Regions from separate parts of the Homo sapiens genome. Here all the other regions are linked to region 1. The links are contacts of gene promoters, found by promoter capture Hi-C in blood cells and fetal thymus (Javierre and others, 2016). All regions are on one chromosome and are shown on one strand. The core of a region is centred on a gene start or on the middle of the fragment in contact, and the rest is flanking DNA. Distances in the headings are between cores, read along the strand shown. Region 1 holds the start of SP9 (Sp9 transcription factor). Region 2 overlaps HAGLR (HOXD antisense growth-associated long non-coding RNA). Region 3 holds the start of HOXD3 (homeobox D3). Region 4 holds the start of HOXD-AS2 (HOXD cluster antisense RNA 2). Region 5 overlaps HOXD10 (homeobox D10). Region 6 has its middle 15 kb from the start of EVX2. Region 7 overlaps RAPGEF4 (Rap guanine nucleotide exchange factor 4).

Region 1 (2,594 bases), core at 25-2,524:
AAGTCCTGGAGAGATTTCTCGGGCGCGTCCGTGAAAGCAGGGCACTAATGGGGAGCCTACCTCTTAAAACAGCGCACTTGCCCTACGGACGAGCCTCTAGGCCCTGGTGGTCTGGAATGGGAGTGGGTTGGAGCTGGGACAAGAAAACTCCACTCCAGGATGAAACGCGACATGCAAATCTTCACCGGGTTAAACAAACAGCCGAGCAAGCTGCAGCTTCAGCGGAGGTGGAGGTGGGGGCGGACGCCGCTCGCGCCGGTCTCTGTTTCCAAAGTTGTTACAGTGAGAAAATAAGCGGCTTCGTGCAGCGTGTTGTATGGGCTGATGCCTCCCACCCCCATGCCAGCCCACAGCAAAACCCGGCAGATAATCAGCACATCCCACTGTTTAGTCATATTTGACAACTGGGTTAACCTGGTATCTAAGCGCTGGCGAAACCGTACAAAGGGTGCCCTCAATTACCACCAGAAGCCTCTAGCGTGAGTGGCACTTGTATTACCCCCCGGGTCAGAGGCCAGAGCGACAATTAGGAAGTCACTTACACCGCTGGGGGGAAATGGCGGGATGCAGCAGGCTCCAGGCCCTCCCAACAAATCTGTGGATGTAGATCTGTACAGAGAGGCCTATTTCGCTCCTCTCGGAGGAGCTGTCCCTTCGCGCCCCCTCCCCAGTATAACTGTGAGAGTGAAATTGAATCTAGTGGAATAAGGAATTGGGTAGAAGACACACGAAAATGATAAAAATCACAAGCAAGAATGATAGATACAAGCTGAAGTTGTGTTCTGTAGGCAAAAGCCTGGACACACAAAGTGAGGGCTCACATTTCCGTCTCCACTTGGGCCCTGCTGGTGCGGGCTGTGTCTGGGTGTCTCCTCCCCTCCTGCCTCCTTTCCTACAAGTGGGGAGTCGAGTAGGACTGTCAGCCCTAACTTGCAACATCTCGGGGTGGTTTGTGTGTGGGGGGGTGCTTGTGGCTCGGTTTCATTGGTACTTAAACCTGGCTTGGTGCGTGAGTGTAAATTTTTAATTGCACTGTAATTTCTTCAGTCCCCAGCCCGCCCTCGCCCCCCCCCCGCAAGTATCCCCCACTACTCCCCCCCACCCCCGCGGCCCTAGCTAGCTGACTTGACTGGCACGCGCCGGGAGCCCGGGCTCGGGCCCCTCGGAGCGTCTGATTGGCTGCGGGGCAGCTCCGGTCTGCTCTGCCTGCGCCCTCATTGGGCGAGAGGCGCAGCCAGCGGCACTTCAAAGCGGGTGCTCCTCGCACTTAGGCTGAGTTTAGCCGGCGGGAGCCTGGAGTCCGCTCGGCACGAGCGCGGGGACGCGGGAGCCGCGCGGGACCCAAGCAGTTTTTCCGAGCAGCCGCCAGGCTCAGCCCCGCTCCCAGCCTCGCTGCGCAGCCAGAGACCTGCTATGGCCACGTCTATACTCGGGGTAAGTCGCAAGCGCGGCAACGCATTTGCTTGTTTTAACCGGAGTAATTTTTCGTTATGGCTTCTGGGGTCTGCGGCTCCGGAGAAACTGTTGCTGCTAGACTGCAGCTTCAGCTTCTATTAGCACTTTCCACATTTCTGGGACTGATTTTTCCCCAAGTTTTTGGAACCCAGAAAGATGCCTTTGCAAGAAAAGGCCTTCTTAATCAAGTCCTTTTTCATTTGGTTTCAAAAAAAAGCTAGAGGTTTCTTTTCTTCCCCTCGTGATTTATACCCCATCCCCCGCATTGCTTTGGGGATTTTGTTGCAATTATGCGACAATGGTGTTTCCAGAAAACAGTCTTAATCGTTTTGCAGTCCATCTAGTCACGCTAATAAACATTTACATTTCCGCGGCTCCCCAATTCGCCCATGACTTTGAAATCTGTCTCTGGCCGCTTATCCTCGGATTATTGTTTTCATAATCGCTGTTTTTGTGTGTATGTAAACTTTAAAACCAAACGTTTTCTATTAAAAAAGAAAAGTCAAGTCGTAGCCACCCTGGGAGAGCTGCAAGTTTCGCCCGTCCCTGGCAGCTGTTTCGGCCGCCTCCGCCCTCACCCGGTGTTTGTTGTCTCTGGTCTCTGTGTTTACCTTCGCGCTTCACCCCGAAGGGCGACTTGGGGTCTTCTGGGAGATGAGCCGGTTTACGGCGACAACCCAAGTCCGGTTGTAGGCAGGGTTGCAGCGGGGAACACGGAGGCATCTTTGATTTATAGCCTCAGCGAAGTGCAACTTTCCGGCGCCTGGACCTTCGCCCGGGTGATCGCCCCTGCTCCGCGCCCGGTGCGGCGACTCCTCCGCGGGCGCGTGGGGAGGAGGCGCGAGGCGGGGAGCCAGGACCCCCCGGGAGCAGCCGCAGGGGACGAGGCTGCTCACGGGTGCACTTTGTTTCTTCCCCCACTTCCTCTTGCCCTCCTCCTTCTTGCTCCCTCCCCCATCCCACCCACTCTAGGAAGAGCCGCGCTTCGGAACGACCCCGTTGGCCATGCTGGCGGCGACCTGCAACAAGATCGGCAACACGAGCCCGCTGACGACGCTGCCAGAGTCGAGCGCCTTCGCCAAAGGCGGCTTTCACCCCTGGAAGCGCTCCTCGTCCAGCTGCAACCTCGGCTCCAGCCT
Region 2 (2,594 bases), core at 42-2,541, 1.8 Mb after region 1:
TTTATAACCATTTTGTAAATATTAATGTGGCTTCTGCTAGGGGTGGACAACTTCCCGGCTTCTATGGGAGGGGCCACTTAGAAAACGCCTTCAGATAAGGTTCAATTCTTTTGTATTTCAGCAAAGTCAGCCCACGCATCTCTATTTGGTTTGACAAATAATGCAACTCCTACTACATCCCCGATGACACGAAGTGAAATTCCTATTGTGTGGAAATAATTTAACTTCTAATCTTCTGGTGGAACAACAATCGTTTCTATTTGGATGTTTGTATTTCACTAAGTAATGATGGCTCAAAATAATATTTAGTTTCCTTGTTCCTTTGTGCTGTTTTTAAAATGGCATGTTAGATTTGGGGGTGGGAGGGGATATCCTTTTGCTAAATTTCACTTTATCTGAGCAGGTTTAAAATATATATGTTGTAGAAGTGTATCAACAGAATAAATGACTTCAATCGAAGGCACATTTTACCCACTTTCAAGGCTTAACATTGTTTTCTATGAAATTTGCATCCATAGGCAGAATTTCTAATTGTCTTGTAAGAAATTATTTTTTAAGCTATTAGAGAAATCAAAGGAGAGCTCACTGCCTTGCAGGGATTACAACCACCTTTCTTAACTGGCTAAATATTAACTAGCTGAATTGTCAGGCTGCTTAGATTCAGCCCGATTTTCCCTCATCTCCTCTTCCTACCATAAATAATAATAAAAATACGTAATGTGTCATGGCTCCAGGCGTTTTCCAGCACAGTGTGTTACCGCAGGAGTATCTGCTGAGTCTGCGGGTGTCTGCAAAGCCCCAAGTGTCATTTGCGGCTTAGGGTTTCATGGATTAGACTTTAAACGGTGTCTAGCCCGGCTGACATTAGCTTCCTCTCACACTCAGGCTCCAAGGAAGTGTGGGATCAGGGGCTCCCTCTCCAGGCAGCCACAGCTTTCCCCGACGCCCTCCTCTCGAGTGGGGTGAGGGCTTGGACCAAATCTGCCACCTTCTGTCATCTCTGGAGGTTCCCGAGACTTCTAATAGCTCGGATCTGTTCCTGCCATTGGCGTGAGACTCATCTGAGGGGCGTGGGTGGGGGTGGGCGGCGAGCCGGGGGAGGGCGCGTTTCCGCGCGGCTGCCAGCCCAGGAGAAAGTTGGGGCCCGCGGCACAGCCATTTAAAACTTCATAAATTATAAACAAGCCGCCTTGGCCTTCGCAATAAATTCCGCTCCTTTTGAGCCTGCAATTAGTGTTAGAAAGCAACCGAGTCTAAACACAACCAAACGCCCTCTGAAGGGCCCAACTGCCTGAGGTTGCAAACCTTTATTTCCCAGCGCCACCCCCTCTCCGACTGAGGTTTGCACACACAGTCGCCTCCTCCCCCGCCACCGCCGGCGGTACACACTCGGCTGGGTTCCCGCTCTGCAAGGGAAGGTCACAATAGCTGCTCTATCGGCTGCGGAGGCGCCTGCCGCCTCCCTCCCGAGTCTCAGAAGCAGAAAAACAAGAGAATGGGGGAGGGGAGGCCCCAGCAACAGCGCCCTTTGCGGGAGGCAACCTCCACCCTAGCCAGGGTCTCTCTCCTGGGACGAGTGCTCGCAGAGGGTTGCGGGGAGGGCAAAGGGAGCGCACCAAGACCACCAGGCTGCTCCAGGCCTTGCCGCAGGGCGCTGGGTTGAGGGTGCCCGGAGCAGCCGCGCCATTGTGTGTCAGGTTTTCCCACGGGATCCGTGATGGGGGAGGCCATATAAAGGGAGCTCGGATCCGGGCCTCTCCGGCATTGGTCTCTGGGAGGGTCTACCTCGTTTGCCCAAGGGGAAGAAATGGCTCTGTCTCAGGCCTTAGCCAGCTCTGCTTTTTTCCTAGAGACTACTTTGGGGAAGGTGGGGATCAGGGAGATTGTGGGTCCTCCTGGGGTCTGAAGAAAGGGGTCAGGGCAGGATCTCAGGCCCATGGCTGAGGGGTGGCAGTCGTCTGGACATTCTAGGTGGTTCTGTCCAGGCAATCAAATATGAATTAAGGCAGGATAGCTGTGAGGCAGCCAGAATGGCCAGCTGCAAAACGGGAGGTGGGGGTGGGGAAGGAGATGCAGACAGTGAGAGCTTTCCCTGCAACCAAGAAAAACTCAGGATCCAGCCAGGAGTTGAAGTGCTGAGACCCAACTGAACTAGCCAGGAAGAATGGGGAAGTGGCAGAAGAAAGGCCTGGAGAGTAGTCCTGGTCACTGGTAAGCAGGTCAGAAAGGGCGATTAAGTACATATTCTGTCTCCTGGCTTTCAGACCTCCACCTTATCCAGGGACCTGACAGAGAAAAATCTGCCTCTGATGGAATCATTAAGTTAACCATCCATTTGTACCATTTCTTTGTACAGGCTTTCAAACGAGAGAGAGGAGAGAATACAGGAGGAGAATGTTTCCCCTTGGTGCAGCCCCAAGCTCCCTATCAGAGACACATCAGCCAAATTAGTTTCCGAGGCTCACAGGCTGCTAACATTGCTGAACAAGATTTTTCGAATTTCTATGTGTTAGGAGTATTAAAAGATAGTGATTACCTATACTAGCAGCCTTTGTCCCTTTTCTCTTCCCTAGTCTGTACCAGCCCACTGGCCC
Region 3 (2,594 bases), core at 44-2,543, 1.8 Mb after region 1:
CCTTGGGGTGAGCCTGGCTCTCAGACTTGCACATGGCAATACTTGAATGTCACCACGTCGGGATATTAAAGATGGATATTCGTGCATTATTCACATCATTGTTTCTATGACAAAAAGCACAGAGTTCATACATAGTCAAGACGTCTTTTTTCTGACGCCCTCACGTTGAGAAGCTGAAAAGGTATTTTACCGAAGTTCGGGTAAATTACAGAATCAGGTTCATCCAGAGGACAAATTTTCTATTTGATTAGCTGTATTTCAGCCGGGAGGACTGACCTCTAAACCCCTAACCTTTTGGACTCTAACTACCCTTCTCTTCTTTTTTCCTCTCTAACATGGAGAGCAGTCTTTGGATGTACCATTTGAAAGGAGCCGCTATCCTTAGGCAAGTTGGAAAGTTGCTAAGCTGCTTTCCTAAAACCCAAATCTGTCTATACATTGAACCTTCTCTTTGAGAAGGGGAAAAAGGTATATATTTTCACAACATCCAATTACATATATATAATAGAGATTTGTTGTATAGATTTTCCCCCACCTCAGAAGTTCAGGTTACTCACCCCCAGTTTCATACCAAATGCCACACAGGCTTAACTGACTGCATCCCTGCCCCAGAGGAAAGCCAAGAAACATGTTTTCATGAGGAAAACCCAAGCTCCTTCTCAAACATAGCCCCACTACTTTGGAAAGTAACTTAATCAGAGAAACAACTTCTTTGTTTATAAGTCTCAGCTCTCCTTCTCAGCTTGGAGGGATTCTTTTGAAATGTTAATGGAGCCTGGATGGCCCAGAGTGCAGCCCCCAACCCTGAGGTCCCAGTCGGACCCCAGCATCCATTTGGGCCCACAGGAGTGGGCCAGGGAAGGGGTAGGGCCCCGTAACCACTTAGGGCAGGGAAGGAAATGGGTTTCCATCTGAGAACGTGCTTTGGAGAAAGCTAGGTGTGGAAAAGCTCCAATGCCCATTTGCTATTATTTGTTTCCAGTTTGTTCCTTTAAATATGAGCCAGAAGTGTTTGTGTTGGTGTTTTAAAAACAAAAACAAAAACCGTGTTGGGGTCCTGACTGGGGGAGGGGGAGAGTGAAGTGTTTGCTGAGGACATTGCTCCTCTGACTCCCATCTCACTTTGTCCATCGCAGCCTTTTGTTGGGAGATGACACTGTCAGTCAGCCCATGATGTCTGTTCACACGAGATGCTTTTTTAATAGAATTGACCAATGTTTTGCTGCCACTGATTAAAGTATTATTTATACTAATTGTTGCTTGTAGTTTTGATGTAATTCATTGATCTATATTTAAAATAATAAAAGGTGTAGCAAAATCTCCCTCCTGTTTGGTGCCTTAACAGAAGCATTCATCCTTTGTTAAGTCTTCTAAAAGCTAACATTTAACATAAACAAGTTATTATTTTCTGCAATAAATTAGGCACCATTTTTTGGGGGGTGCCTAAAGTGTGAAGGTTAAACCATGTAAGGCTTAGCAATTCTATTATTACCACCTCCTTAATGTACACACACTCCCAGTTGGCCACCATATTTTGTGAGCATTGGGAAGCCTGGGGTTGAATTCAGGGTACAGAGTGTTGGGTGTTAATTTTTTGAAGAAAAAGTAATTGCCCAGGTTAATAGGGGGATCCAGGTTGGCATTCTGCTGGGCCCGGGCCAGGCCCCAGACCTTTTTGGTCTGGAAGCCCTCAGAGGAAGTCTTTGGGAAGTGGTGGATGAGACACCTTACTGGTCCCCCACCCCTAAGGCAGGGAGAGCGTGCTGGGTTCTGGGCCGAGCTGAGGCTCCTGGGTGGCTGCTCTGACCTGACCCCCGGGCCTCCACTCTTGGGCTTCTACTTTTCCAGTACTGTTAAGCTCCTGTGGGGACTCCAGCACCTGCCCCTCCTTCTTCCGCGCCCCCTCCACCCCTCAGGCAACAATAAACACTCCCCACTATAAAAAGTGCCCTGCACTACATTTACCGCAAGGGCTTCTTTACATCTTGGCCTCGCCTTGAAGAAGGGGCCAAGACAGGAGTCCCAAAATAGATGGGGGTGCTTGTTCCAGACAGGAAATGAGCAGAATGCATAAAATCAGACATCTGTCCTTAATATATGGAAGGGCTTGCCCCAGACGCGTGGACATGTGTATTTATAAGTGCGCAGGCAGAAGTTTAAATATTCAGACACATTTTATGATTGTCCTCTGCCCGTCTTCTGCTTAATGGCTCCTCCCGTGCCCACCAATACATCAATACCGTTGTGTGTATTGAATCGCGGGCAGGGATGAGGAGGAAGCGAGTCCATAGCAGAGCCCGCTGAGTATAGAGTACAGTAAATCGGGACCCTCGGCGGACGGCGCTTCCCGCCCGCCTGCCCGCCATGTTGGGGAGCCCTCCCTGCCCCCCGCGCCGGGCTGGGCGGCCGGGGCTCGCTGGCAGCCGGGGGAGGGCCTTTCATAACCCGGAGAATTTTCTAAGTGCGAGGAAGATGATAAGAATAGATTTCTACAAGTCCCGACCACGTGATTGGCGAAATAATTAATTCAGCACGTCCCTTAAGAAACACGGAGTCGTCATTAATCTGCCACGCAAAGGGCTCTCTCCGACTTG
Region 4 (2,594 bases), core at 59-2,558, 1.8 Mb after region 1:
GGTTGGTGATTATCCTACTGCAGAACCTCCCGGGAATGGGAGGGACCCCAATTTATGTTGGAGTGGTGTGTTGGGGGCACATTTTCTTGGCCTGCAGATCCCTCGTTTTCTTCCCAAGGTAACTGGGGCTGGCTTGCAAGATGAGAGGGAGGAGGGGAAACCGAAAGTGGTTGGCTGCCTCTGGGGACAGGCCTTTTCCTGAGGGGAGAGGAGGAGAAGCCAAGTGACTAGCACAGGGTGAGAGATGGGAGGAGGTAGCTGTGGGGATCGCTTCCCCAGAGCGTGAGCAGTACATTGAGTTCATTTCCCTCCTTCACGATGGCCAACTGCGCAGAGGTTTTGAGCCAAACCAAAGAAAAGAACACACACACACACACACACACACACACACACACACACGCACACACACAAATAAATCCTAGAAAAAGAAACAGAGGAGGCGGGGAGGGAGGGAAGAACCACGAAGGGAAGAAAAAGGGAAAGGTGAAGAGGGACAGAGAAAGAGAAGGGAGGAAGGAGAGAGAGAATGGAGAGAGAGAGGAGGAGGAGAAGGAAGAGAGGAGGCGGGGGAGAGAGAAAGCAGAAGAGGAAAAAACATGGCGCTTGCGAGCTGTATGTGCAAAATCCGCAAGGAATTGCAGTAAATTCCTTTTTGTTTGAAGAAAATTTACAACTTGGTAATAGACCTTTTTATGACCTATTTGCGGTCGTCATTGGCTGCGGCTGGTCATGTGCAGGCGCCGCTCGCCTTCACGGCCTTTTTCCTGATTTCCCCGGCGAATTTCCCCCCGCATTCTGCTTTCCCAGAGCCTCACCCCCTCTTTTTCTAACCTTTGTCTCTGCAGAGGTGGGCTCCAGTCACCGGCTGCGGGATTGCGGAGTCCGCCGCGGCCTCGGCTCCCGCCCGGCGCCCGGCCTGGCCCCACCGCCGCTCACTCGGTCCGCATCGCCGCCACCTCCGGAGCTGGTGGGGAGCCCGGCGAGGGAGGGCCTGGAAGGGGCCCTGGGCGCCGAGTCCCCCGCCGGCGCCGACACCGCCTGCCAGGAGCAGCCGGCCTGCTCGAGGTGACTGCAGCCGCGCGGTTCTGGCGCGGCTTCTTCACCAACATGAGCGGGTCTCTGCGTCCGAGAGTGAGCGCAGCCGGGCAGCGCCTAGTGGATTACAGCAGACGCCCGGACCGACCGCCGCCTGTAGCTCGGCAGCCTTCGGGTAAGAATCGCCCCCTCCCCGCTCCCCAGCATGCCACCAAGAAGCCTGGGGCGCCGACCCCCTTGGGCAGCTCAGTCCGGCTGCTCCCCTACATTTCCCGGGGAAGTGGGGGGTCGCTGTCTAAGCCCCTTCCCCCAATCACTTCGTTCCTAGGGCGTCCCCTGGGGCCTGGGGTGGAGTCCGGCTGGGTTCAGAAGTCTAAGGGGGCAGTATTATTTCAAAAATTCTGAGATACGGGTAGCCACAGACAGGATCCCACTGCCTAGATGGAGAGCCCCTCAATCCTACCCTAGGAAAGTGTATAGACGGGTTACTACTGAACATCTCCACTTTGCTGGGGGTCACTAAAGGCATTTTATATAGAGCTGTGGTTTTTGTGGTTTACCTGTGGCCGTGGCCAGAGGTTCCTGGGAGGCTAACAGGTGTTTTTTGAGGGTTGGGGCTTGGGTGGGGGTGGGGTGAATTCTCTGTTTCTAGGATGTGCTTGGTGTTTGAATCTAGGCTTTAGTGACTGATGCTGGTTAATTTCTAGGGTTGATGGTTTATTGGGCCTTGTGTTGTATGAGATGGAATTTTAAATATTTTTAAATGTTTCTCTAGTTCTTAGAGAAATTTTTAAGCAACTCAAGATAGGCTCTTCCCGCATATGATAATCCGTCAGGTGAATTTGGATTCTTTTATATCACAAAATGAATCCATGTTTTGGGAGGTAATGGTATCAGAATATATGGTGCAGGTCTTGGTAAAAACCCAATAGATCTTTGAGAAATACAAGACATCTCTGTGTTGAAACATCGTGTGTTTCTTATTTGCCAGAGTAGGAAAAGAGTAGATCTTTTTGCTCTCTAAATGTATTGATGGGTTGTGTTTTTTTTCCCACCTGCTAATAAATATTACATTGCAACATTCTTCCCTCAACTTCAAAACTGCTGAACTGAAACAATATGCATAAAAGAAAATCCTTTGCAGAAGAAAAAAAGCTATTTTCTCCCACTGATTTTGAATGGCACTTGCGGATGCAGTTCGCAAATCCTATTGCCTATTCCCTCATGAACATTGTGAAATGAAACCTTTGGACAGTCTGCCGCATTGCGCATGAGACTGCCTGCGCAAGGCAAGGGTATGGTTCCCAAAGCACCCAGTGGTAAATCCTAACTTATTATTCCCTTAAAATTCCAATGTAACAACGTGGGCCATAAAAGAGTTTCTGAACAAAACATGTCATCTTTGTGGAAAGGTGTTTTTCGTAATTAATGATGGAATCATGCTCATTTCAAAATGGAGGTCCACGATTTGTGGCCAGCTGATGCCTGCAAATTATCCTGGATCACTAACTCTGATCACTTACAAATAAGAAACTTGAGTGATTGTTATTTTATTTGGA
Region 5 (2,594 bases), core at 72-2,571, 1.8 Mb after region 1:
CGCTTCTCCCCTGCTGCCCTGGCCCTCTCCGCCAGTCCTGGCCCCACGCTGATGGCGCCCGGGCAGAGGAAAAGCTTGCCGGTTTTATTTTTCCTGAGCTAGACCTGAACACAACAAAAGAGCGCAAAGGAGACCTGCGGCTCATAAACACGACCACAGAGCCTCTTTTCTCCTGCTCAGATTTGCAGTTCCAGTTTTGCCTTGAGCCCAATGATCATGTTAAGGTGATCCAGGGCACCGTGTTCGTGTTCAAGTGTATGCACCCCGCATCCTGCGAGCTTGGGGGTGGTGAGGGGAAAGAGATGGCTGGGCTGGTTGGTGCTTGAGTTGGGAAACAGGGCTTACTGCCTTTGCTGGGCTAGGTAACCTTGGCTTTGTTTAGGAAAAGTGCTGCAGTCTTTGCAATCCGTCGGCAAAGAGGGCAAAGGCGGAGGGGGAGAGTGGAACCCGCATTGCCCTCCCTGCAAGGCCAGCCTTAGGGCTGGGCTAAGGCAAAGAGCCAGGGATCTGGCTTTTTGAGAAGGAACCCTCCTCCTCTCCCCCAGTGCTTAGAGGTGGGCCACAGTAGGGGGCTCCCTTTCTGGGGGAATGCTTTAGTGTGGGGGCAAGAAGACATGAAAATTAAGGAAATTCTGGGGAATGCAACAATACCCAGGCAAGGTGGGGGAAGGTGTCTCGCTTCCCCATTTATCTTTTGAAAGAGAATGGGCACCTATAAACCTGACTGTCAGGATTCCTGACTGCCTAGGAGAGGTGGGGAAGAAGTGGCAGATTTGGGGACCTGAGGCAGCAGTGGGGTTGGTAGGCTTGTCCAGGTCGTGGCGTATTCCCCTCCGTCCCTGTTAGGAGCTGAACCCTTAGAATGTTGCTGGGGAGATCTGGAAAGTTTACTATTCTACTAATGTTTTGTACAAGTGAGAAAGTTGAAAGAGAGAGCGAGAACCCAAATGCAGACTGTCCTGCCATCATGTCATTTAAGTAATGTGGCATCAATGTAAGATTCCCTTCCAAGGCCCACTTCATGTGAGTAATGTTTAATACTAGCATTTTCCAAAGCGGCCTGGCTGCCAGCAGGGTCACGGCCAAGGGTACATTTGAACAGTCTGAAGAAAAAAACAAAAACGAAAACCAAAACCAAAACCAAAACAAAAACAAAAACAAAAACAAACAAACAAAAAACCTCTTGATTTTTTTCTTCTTCTCCCTTTAATTTTGTTAGAGGAAATCAAGTCTGATACACCAACCAGCAATTGGCTCACTGCAAAGAGTGGCAGAAAGAAGAGGTGCCCTTACACTAAGCACCAAACGCTGGAATTAGAAAAAGAGTTCTTGTTCAATATGTACCTCACCCGCGAGCGCCGCCTAGAGATCAGTAAGAGCGTTAACCTCACCGACAGGCAGGTCAAGATTTGGTTTCAAAACCGCCGAATGAAACTCAAGAAGATGAGCCGAGAGAACCGGATCCGAGAACTGACCGCCAACCTCACGTTTTCTTAGGTCTGAGGCCGGTCTGAGGCCGGTCAGAGGCCAGGATTGGAGAGGGGGCACCGCGTTCCAGGGCCCAGTGCTGGAGGACTGGGAAAGCGGAAACAAAACCTTCACCGCTCTTTGTTTGTTGTTTTGTTGTATTTTGTTTTCCTGCTAGAATGTGACTTTGGGGTCATTATGTTCGTGCTGCAAGTGATCTGTAATCCCTATGAGTATATATATATATATATATATATATATATAAAAACTTAGCACGTGTAATTTATTATTTTTTCATCGTAATGCAGGGTAACTATTATTGCGCATTTTCATTTGGGTCTTAACTTATTGGAACTGTAGAGCATCCATCCATCCATCCATCCAGCAATGTGACTTTTTCATGTCTTTCCTAACACAAAAGGTCTATGTGTGTGGTTAGTCCATGAACTCATGGCATTTTGAATACATCCAGTACTTTAAAAATGACATATATATTTAAAAAAAAAAGATTAAGAAAACCCACAAGTTGGAGGGAGGGGGACTTAAAAAGCACATTACAATGTATCTTTTCACAAATGAATTTAGCAGTTGTCCTTGGTGAGATGGGATATTGGCGATTTATGCCTTGTAGCCTTTCCCTTGTGGTGCATCTGTGGTTTGGTAGAAGTACAACAGCAACCTGTCCTTTCTGTGCATGTTCTGGTCGCATGTATAATGCAATAAACTCTGGAAATGAGTTCACTCCCTCTGCTTTCTGAAATGGAAATATGTTATGGTGGAAATGAAAGCCTATGGTGAGATTATCTTCTGGTTACACTCCCTGTTTGGGGCATTTGGGCAGGGGAGTGATAGACTAGTAGGGGAAGGGAGATGGGGGAGAAAAGCTGGAGGAGGCCTAGGGTGTTGGATTTTGGCAGTGGTTGGGGGAGAGGAATTATAAGCTAGCTTGAGAGTGAAGTTTTCATAATTGGGAGGAAGGGGAGTCTCCTCTTTCCTTTCCCAGTCCCCAGTGATAGTAACATAATTGCGCTCTCAATGGGTGTGAGCTTTCCTCTGGCCTGAACCTGGTAAGTAAGCCTATACCCCAAGCCACTTTCTCCTCAAAGCTTCCCATTTGTGTGTTTTCT
Region 6 (2,594 bases), core at 31-2,530, 1.7 Mb after region 1:
GAGCGGAGAATAGAGGTCAGGGGTGCGACCAGTTACACCGAAGAGGCGGCTAGAACTCTGAAGTGACAACCGCCACTTTTCAGTACTCAATGCACAGAGTTCATCTGTGTTCAATCTCCATGCTGAGCGCCCAAGACCCTGGCAAGTAAGACTTGGGTAAGGCCAGCAAGGAGCAAGTCTGTTGGAGGCTTTCAAGAGCCTACTAAGGAGGACAGATATAGACAGGCTTTTTTCCATGAGGGGAAACTGAGGTTTCAACAGAAGCATCTACATGTTTCAGCCTGCACTCTCTGGGCATGGCCAGTGGCTCCAGGCCCCGAAATGAGCCACTCCGCCTCATCTGCACCCTCCCCGTTCCCTAAAAATCCGAACGAACTGCTCGCTCCCAAGGTCAGGATCTTACGGGGCCACTTTTTCGGATCTCCCAGGATGCTTCCTGGTGGAGTGGGCAGCGAGGTTTCCAGCCGGGCTCGCCCCGCCTCCAGAACCTCGGGCCACAGTGCTTTAACGACGTCGTCGTTCCGCTTGATGCGAGGGCCGCTTGGTGAACTGTTGGCGACGTCGTTCGCAGCCCGAAGTCCCTGTAGCAGGTCGGTATCACACATCTGCTACTTGCCTTGCGCTGTCGCCAAGCGTAGTCCCAGTCCTTCCCGTGAATTTCAAAAGTGGCATTGGAGGCTCAGACAGGAAACAGGCGTGAGGGGCTTACACACTTGAGCTTGCCCAAGCCCTACCTCCCACCCAGCGGGCTTCCTCCCGCTTGCCATGGGCCAGGGATCAAAGGAACAATAACTACAATGGCCACCATTTATTGAACATGCCAAGCAAACTTTAAAAGGTTTTATTGTTTCGTGTGAGCCTTACAACAACACAGCGAAACAGCTTCTATTATGCCCATTTTACAGATGAGAAAACATGCAGCGAGATTAATAGATCGATTACTTGAGCCCCAGTCAGGAAGAGCCCAACATCCTGCTGCTTTCATTTTGGAGGGTGAGAAGTGGAGTGTGTGGAAGAGAGGCAAAATGGAGCCTACAGGGCTCAGTGGGGCTCATGACCCTTCTCATTCCCGAAGTCACCCACCAAACAAACTCTGCTTGAGGCCCCTCCCAGCAGGGGCCCTGGGAGGAAGGTGGTGGAAGACAGGACTGACTGAGGACCTTGAGCCAAGGGAGAGACTCATCTCATTTGGATTCCAAATGTTTTAGCTGTGTGACCTTGGGCAACTTGCTTAACCACTCTCACTTCTGTTTTCTCAGTTATAAAATTAGAATCATAATGCACAAGGCAGATAGGAAACTCTTAAGAGCTTTCTGAGGATTAAATAAAGGGAATTTATTTTTCTTATCTTTCCCTGTTGGTTTCCCCATGCCTAGCACAGTGCCCTGGACACAATGAATACAGGATAAGGTATTTTCCTTTCTTTCAGCTTCTTCCAAAGCAGCACCAGCTGCATGGCACCTCCCACCCTGCCCTAAACCGCCTGACTCTGTGCGGGCACAGGTCGAAGCAGAATATTTGCCTCTTCTGCCTCTTCTCCCTTGGCCTCAGGCCCGGACCAAGTGAAGCTCTTGGGAACAGGCATTTGGTGGACTGGTCTCAGCCTCTGGGACTCAGAGGGCAGCCGGCAAGGGTGGATGGGCGTAGAAGAGGGAGGGAGCAAGACCAGGTCCTCAGACTCCTTACTCCTTCCTAGTGTTGGGAACAACTAATACATACAACTTACTCTACTGTCAGGCCCTAGTGTGAGCTTTAAACACACTGTATTAACTCAATCTTCCTGAGAAGGAGGACTTACTATTCTTATTTTAGGGATGAAGAAACTGAGGCAGAAAGCAACCTGATTGTGGTCACACCACAAATGAGTGGCTAAGCAGAGATTTCAACCACAAAGCCATACAACCTCTCGCATTTGGAGAGTATGAGTGGCAAAGGCACCCTTAGCAAGAAGAGAAGGCCAGTTAGAACCTTAATCTGCAAGATTTCCCCCAGGCTCCTAAGGTCTGGAGGCCTGTGGGTAACCAAACACTGCTTGTCCAGCTCTGCCTCAGCAGCTCCATCCTGGCCTTATCCTTGAGCCTGGACACCTTGAGGTAGTCACCTCACACACCCCTGAAGTCTTGGACCTTGTTGTCCCTGAGTGTAAGCCTGTTCCCAACCCTATTCCACCTCTGCCTCAGTTCCCTGTCCCCTGCCCAACCTCTGTGCTGCCTCTATCATCAGTCTGTCACTAGCACCATTCTGTGACCGTCCTCGTGGCCTCTCTGGGTCTGAGTCCCTTCACTCTGTGCACATGGTTTTGGGTTTGTTTGTTTGTTTTGTTTTGTTTTGTTTTTCTCTGCTTGGATATCCAGTTGAATTCCCAGGAAACCTCTGCCCCACCCCCACCTCCACCTCATTTTTCTCCTCTGGAGACCCTGCAGGGCACAGGGACTAGAGCGATCTCCAGGCCATTGCTTTCACATTTATTTTGGGGTTTGTTTCTTGATGGATCCAGAGGCTGTGAAGAGTTCTGGATTCTGGATGATTGATGTGAGCAGAACCTGGCCCAGGGGAGAAACCAGTACCCTACAACCCCAGTTTCTTGGACACCC
Region 7 (2,594 bases), core at 53-2,552, 1.4 Mb before region 1:
AGTGAAAAATAAGGAATCTAATTTTGGGAGACAGATATTCCAACTCTACATGTACATACACACACACACCCTTTTTTTTTTTTTTTGATCTGCTAATAATCTTTGGAGCTACTACTTTATTTAAGTGGAAAGAAAACAAGCTTAGTTGATCAAGAATTGCCAGTATCACTACTGTCCTTGAAGGGACCAACCAAGCACTTCACTCCTGGAAACTGAGGGCATGTTCAGAGGTCCTGGAAATGTTGACTTTCTACTGCCGAAAGTGCTAAGTCATTAAGAAATGTGGAGGCATGAGATGCATTGGCTTCATACTGACCAGGGCAGGACCCCCAACTTTTAAACTCAGCACGGCTGCATTTTATAATAGTCACCACTGCCAGAGAGGTTGCAGAACTCTGATAATTACTGGGAAAGAAATAACACAATATTCTTTGATGAGAAGATTACTTTGAGAATTTGATTGTATAATGAAGATGTTGCTTTGAAAGGTACTTCCTATTGTTCTGAATCTGAGACTTGCTAGCAAAAAAAAAAAGTGTCACTTGTTTTGACAGGCTACTTAGAAAAATTCTCTGTTTATTACATTAACTGCAGCATTTTAACTGTCAAACTATGAAAGAATGTTCTGTAGTTTAAAAAACAGAATAGAGCTTCAGGGGAAATTTTTTGGCACACTCTTGTTGCTATTGGTATTGAAAAAAAACACATACATTCTGCATGTGAAATTAGCTTTTTATGTGGTGGCAGACAGAGTGACTCACAATGCCCGTCCTGGTTTCGCAGGTGCAGACCTGGATGGCATTTGGGGGCAAGTGCTACAGAACGATGACAGTTTGACGGTGCTGTTGTTGTAGCTCTGAGACAGGGCCATCAAACACTGAATGAGCTCTCCAAGCTTATTGTTTTGATTTTGCTTTGTTTATAAATCTAAAAACAAGAGGTTGCCCTATAGCAAGTAGATATAATGGGTACTCTTACCAGTAGAAATGTGCATTTTGGCTTTCTTTGAGCAGGTACTTTGGTTAGAGAAATATGAGTAAAAGGATCTGGAGTGACTAGGTAAACAGAGTATTGTAAACTTGAGGCCAACTGTGGATAAAAAAGAGGCTTCAAGGAGACAGGACGCTCTGCTGTACAAGCCTTCCAACCACTCCTTCCAAGTAAAGTGAGACATAGGTTCCAATGTTCAGGATGGTCTATCAGAGACCAGCCTAAAGTTGGGAGGACAGTTAAGTAGACACTGTTTCCCAAATCAAAATTTAGGTCTGCAGTTCTGAAAATGCCTAACAGTAGAAGCCTAAGTAAGTTGAGAAAGAGAAAAGTCATTTGGGCCCGAGCAGAGAGAAATATATGTATATATAAGAGAATTGTTAGAAGTTGGGGAATCTTCCAACTGGGTCAGAAACACACAAACTTGAGTTCGTTTATTTTATGTGATAAATTAATATTTCAGTTGCCCTTGGGATTTTTCCCATCTCCCTAGGTTTTTTGAAACTTTTTAAACATTGGAATTGGGCTGGCAGTTTCTTCTTTTGACTCTTTCTGCTGGAATAAGAGCTCTGAGAGATGGGAAAGTGAAAAGTAAGGAATCTAATTTTAGGAGACAGACAGTCCAACTCTACATGCACGTACACACATACCCCATTTTTTTTTTGATCTGCTAATAATCTTTGGAGTTACTATTTAATTTTACTTAAACGGAAAGAAAACAAGCTTCGTTGGTCAAGAATTGCCAGTATCATTGTTGTCTTGAAGAGACCATCTGAACACACCTTGCTCCTGAAAACTGAGAGCATGTTCAAAGGTCCTGGAAATGGTTTTTTTGTTTGTTTTCTTATTGCCCATACTCTGCTAAGGCATTAAGAAATATGGAAACGTGAGATATATTGGCTTCATATCAAACATATGCTATAGGGCGTAAAGTTGAAAGGCAACAATTTAAGATGGATTAAATGACATAAAGGCAAAATACTGTGGGCGGGGGTGGGGAGGGTATTGTTTATCCCTTAATTGGCTGCCCTAATGCAAGGCTGTCCTGCAGAGGCTGGGTGGAGACTACCCTGCTGCTGTTCGATTCCACACACTTGCTCTAGAGGGCGCGTGAGAGCCTGTGTATTGTGTCTTAATTAGCAGTGCCTGTTTTAATAGGATCTTTATTTGTCTAAACTCTTTTCCAGGGTGTGGAATTTAAAATCCTGGTAATTATAGAGGGATTTGTTTCTTCGGGGGATTCCAGATTAGCAAGCCTAAAATTGGTGGTGGTTAGGGTTTTGATTTCTGCTGGGATGTGTCAAGAGAATGTCCACAGTTACGAAGTTCATCTCAAATGTTAATCAGATGAGAAGAAAAGCACGACCGAAAGAACCTAGGCTTCTGAAGTAAGACAGTCACGGCGAATCCTTCCTTCACTGCATGGTGACCTTCACCTTGGTCTTTACTGGAAAGATTTTGGCGTCACAAGTGAAAGCTTGTAGAATTTACCTGAATAAATGATTGCATTAAGTAGGTCATTTCTCTGCCTCTCCCCATGAAAGCAATTTATTCTTATTCCTCATATCCACATGGCCTGAAACCAGCCATTGGATTGCTACCTT

The links. The method cuts DNA at HindIII sites, captures the fragments that hold promoters and counts their contacts. A CHiCAGO score of 5 or more calls a contact.
Region 2: a contact is called between a fragment that was not itself captured here and the fragment with the promoter of SP9 in region 1, in 2 of 17 cell types (total B cells and naive B cells). The highest score is 13.7, in total B cells.
Region 3: a contact is called between a fragment that was not itself captured here and the fragment with the promoter of SP9 in region 1, in 2 of 17 cell types (total B cells and naive B cells). The highest score is 17.7, in total B cells.
Region 4: a contact is called between the fragment with the promoter of HOXD-AS2 here and the fragment with the promoter of SP9 in region 1, in 4 of 17 cell types (total B cells, naive B cells, naive CD8 T cells and 1 more). The highest score is 20.3, in total B cells.
Region 5: a fragment that was not itself captured here is called in contact with the fragment with the promoter of SP9 in region 1 in 3 of 17 cell types (total B cells, naive B cells and naive CD8 T cells); the score reaches 17.4 in total B cells.
Region 6: a contact is called between a fragment that was not itself captured here and the fragment with the promoter of SP9 in region 1, in 2 of 17 cell types (naive B cells and total B cells). The highest score is 7.5, in naive B cells.
Region 7: a contact is called between a fragment that was not itself captured here and the fragment with the promoter of SP9 in region 1, in 1 of 17 cell types (fetal thymus). The highest score is 12.4, in fetal thymus.

The regions. Positions count from the first base shown.
Region 1 is chr2:174,333,680-174,336,273 of GRCh38, forward strand. SP9 (Sp9 transcription factor) reads left to right here and starts at 1,275. Exons shown (of 2, transcript NM_001145250.2): 1 at 1,275-1,434; 2 at 2,428-2,594. The coding sequence starts at 1,414. LOC102724194 (a long non-coding RNA gene) reads right to left here and starts at 1,297. Exons shown (of 3, transcript XR_427194.5): 1 at 61-1,297. The HindIII fragment of the contact is 13,141 bases long and covers 1-2,594 here.
Region 2 is chr2:176,173,755-176,176,348 of GRCh38, forward strand. HAGLR (HOXD antisense growth-associated long non-coding RNA) reads right to left here. Exons shown (of 3, transcript NR_033979.2): 3 at 1-2,594. Among named protein-coding and RNA genes, the nearest start is that of HAGLROS, 3.1 kb to the right of the region's middle. The HindIII fragment of the contact is 2,951 bases long and covers 1-2,594 here.
Region 3 is chr2:176,154,757-176,157,350 of GRCh38, forward strand. HOXD3 (homeobox D3) reads left to right here and starts at 2,551. Exons shown (of 4, transcript NM_006898.5): 1 at 2,551-2,594. RefSeq lists an enhancer at 511-1,014. The HindIII fragment of the contact is 3,118 bases long and covers 1-2,594 here.
Region 4 is chr2:176,135,790-176,138,383 of GRCh38, forward strand. HOXD-AS2 (HOXD cluster antisense RNA 2) reads right to left here and starts at 1,309. Exons shown (of 3, transcript NR_038435.1): 1 at 832-1,309. LOC401021 (a long non-coding RNA gene) reads left to right here and starts at 823. Exons shown (of 2, transcript NR_148241.1): 1 at 823-1,210. The HindIII fragment of the contact is 4,739 bases long and covers 1-2,594 here.
Region 5 is chr2:176,117,735-176,120,328 of GRCh38, forward strand. It overlaps HOXD10 (homeobox D10), which reads left to right. Exons shown (of 2, transcript NM_002148.4): 2 at 1,220-2,203. The coding sequence ends at 1,497. Among named protein-coding and RNA genes, the nearest start is that of HOXD10, 2.3 kb to the left of the region's middle. The HindIII fragment of the contact is 2,499 bases long and covers 73-2,571 here.
Region 6 is chr2:176,068,087-176,070,680 of GRCh38, forward strand. No RefSeq gene overlaps it. Among named protein-coding and RNA genes, the nearest start is that of EVX2, 15 kb to the right of the region's middle. The HindIII fragment of the contact is 4,486 bases long and covers 1-2,594 here.
Region 7 is chr2:172,970,112-172,972,705 of GRCh38, forward strand. The region is part of intron 10 of RAPGEF4 (Rap guanine nucleotide exchange factor 4); the gene reads left to right. Among named protein-coding and RNA genes, the nearest start is that of MAP3K20, 100 kb to the right of the region's middle. The HindIII fragment of the contact is 818 bases long and covers 894-1,711 here.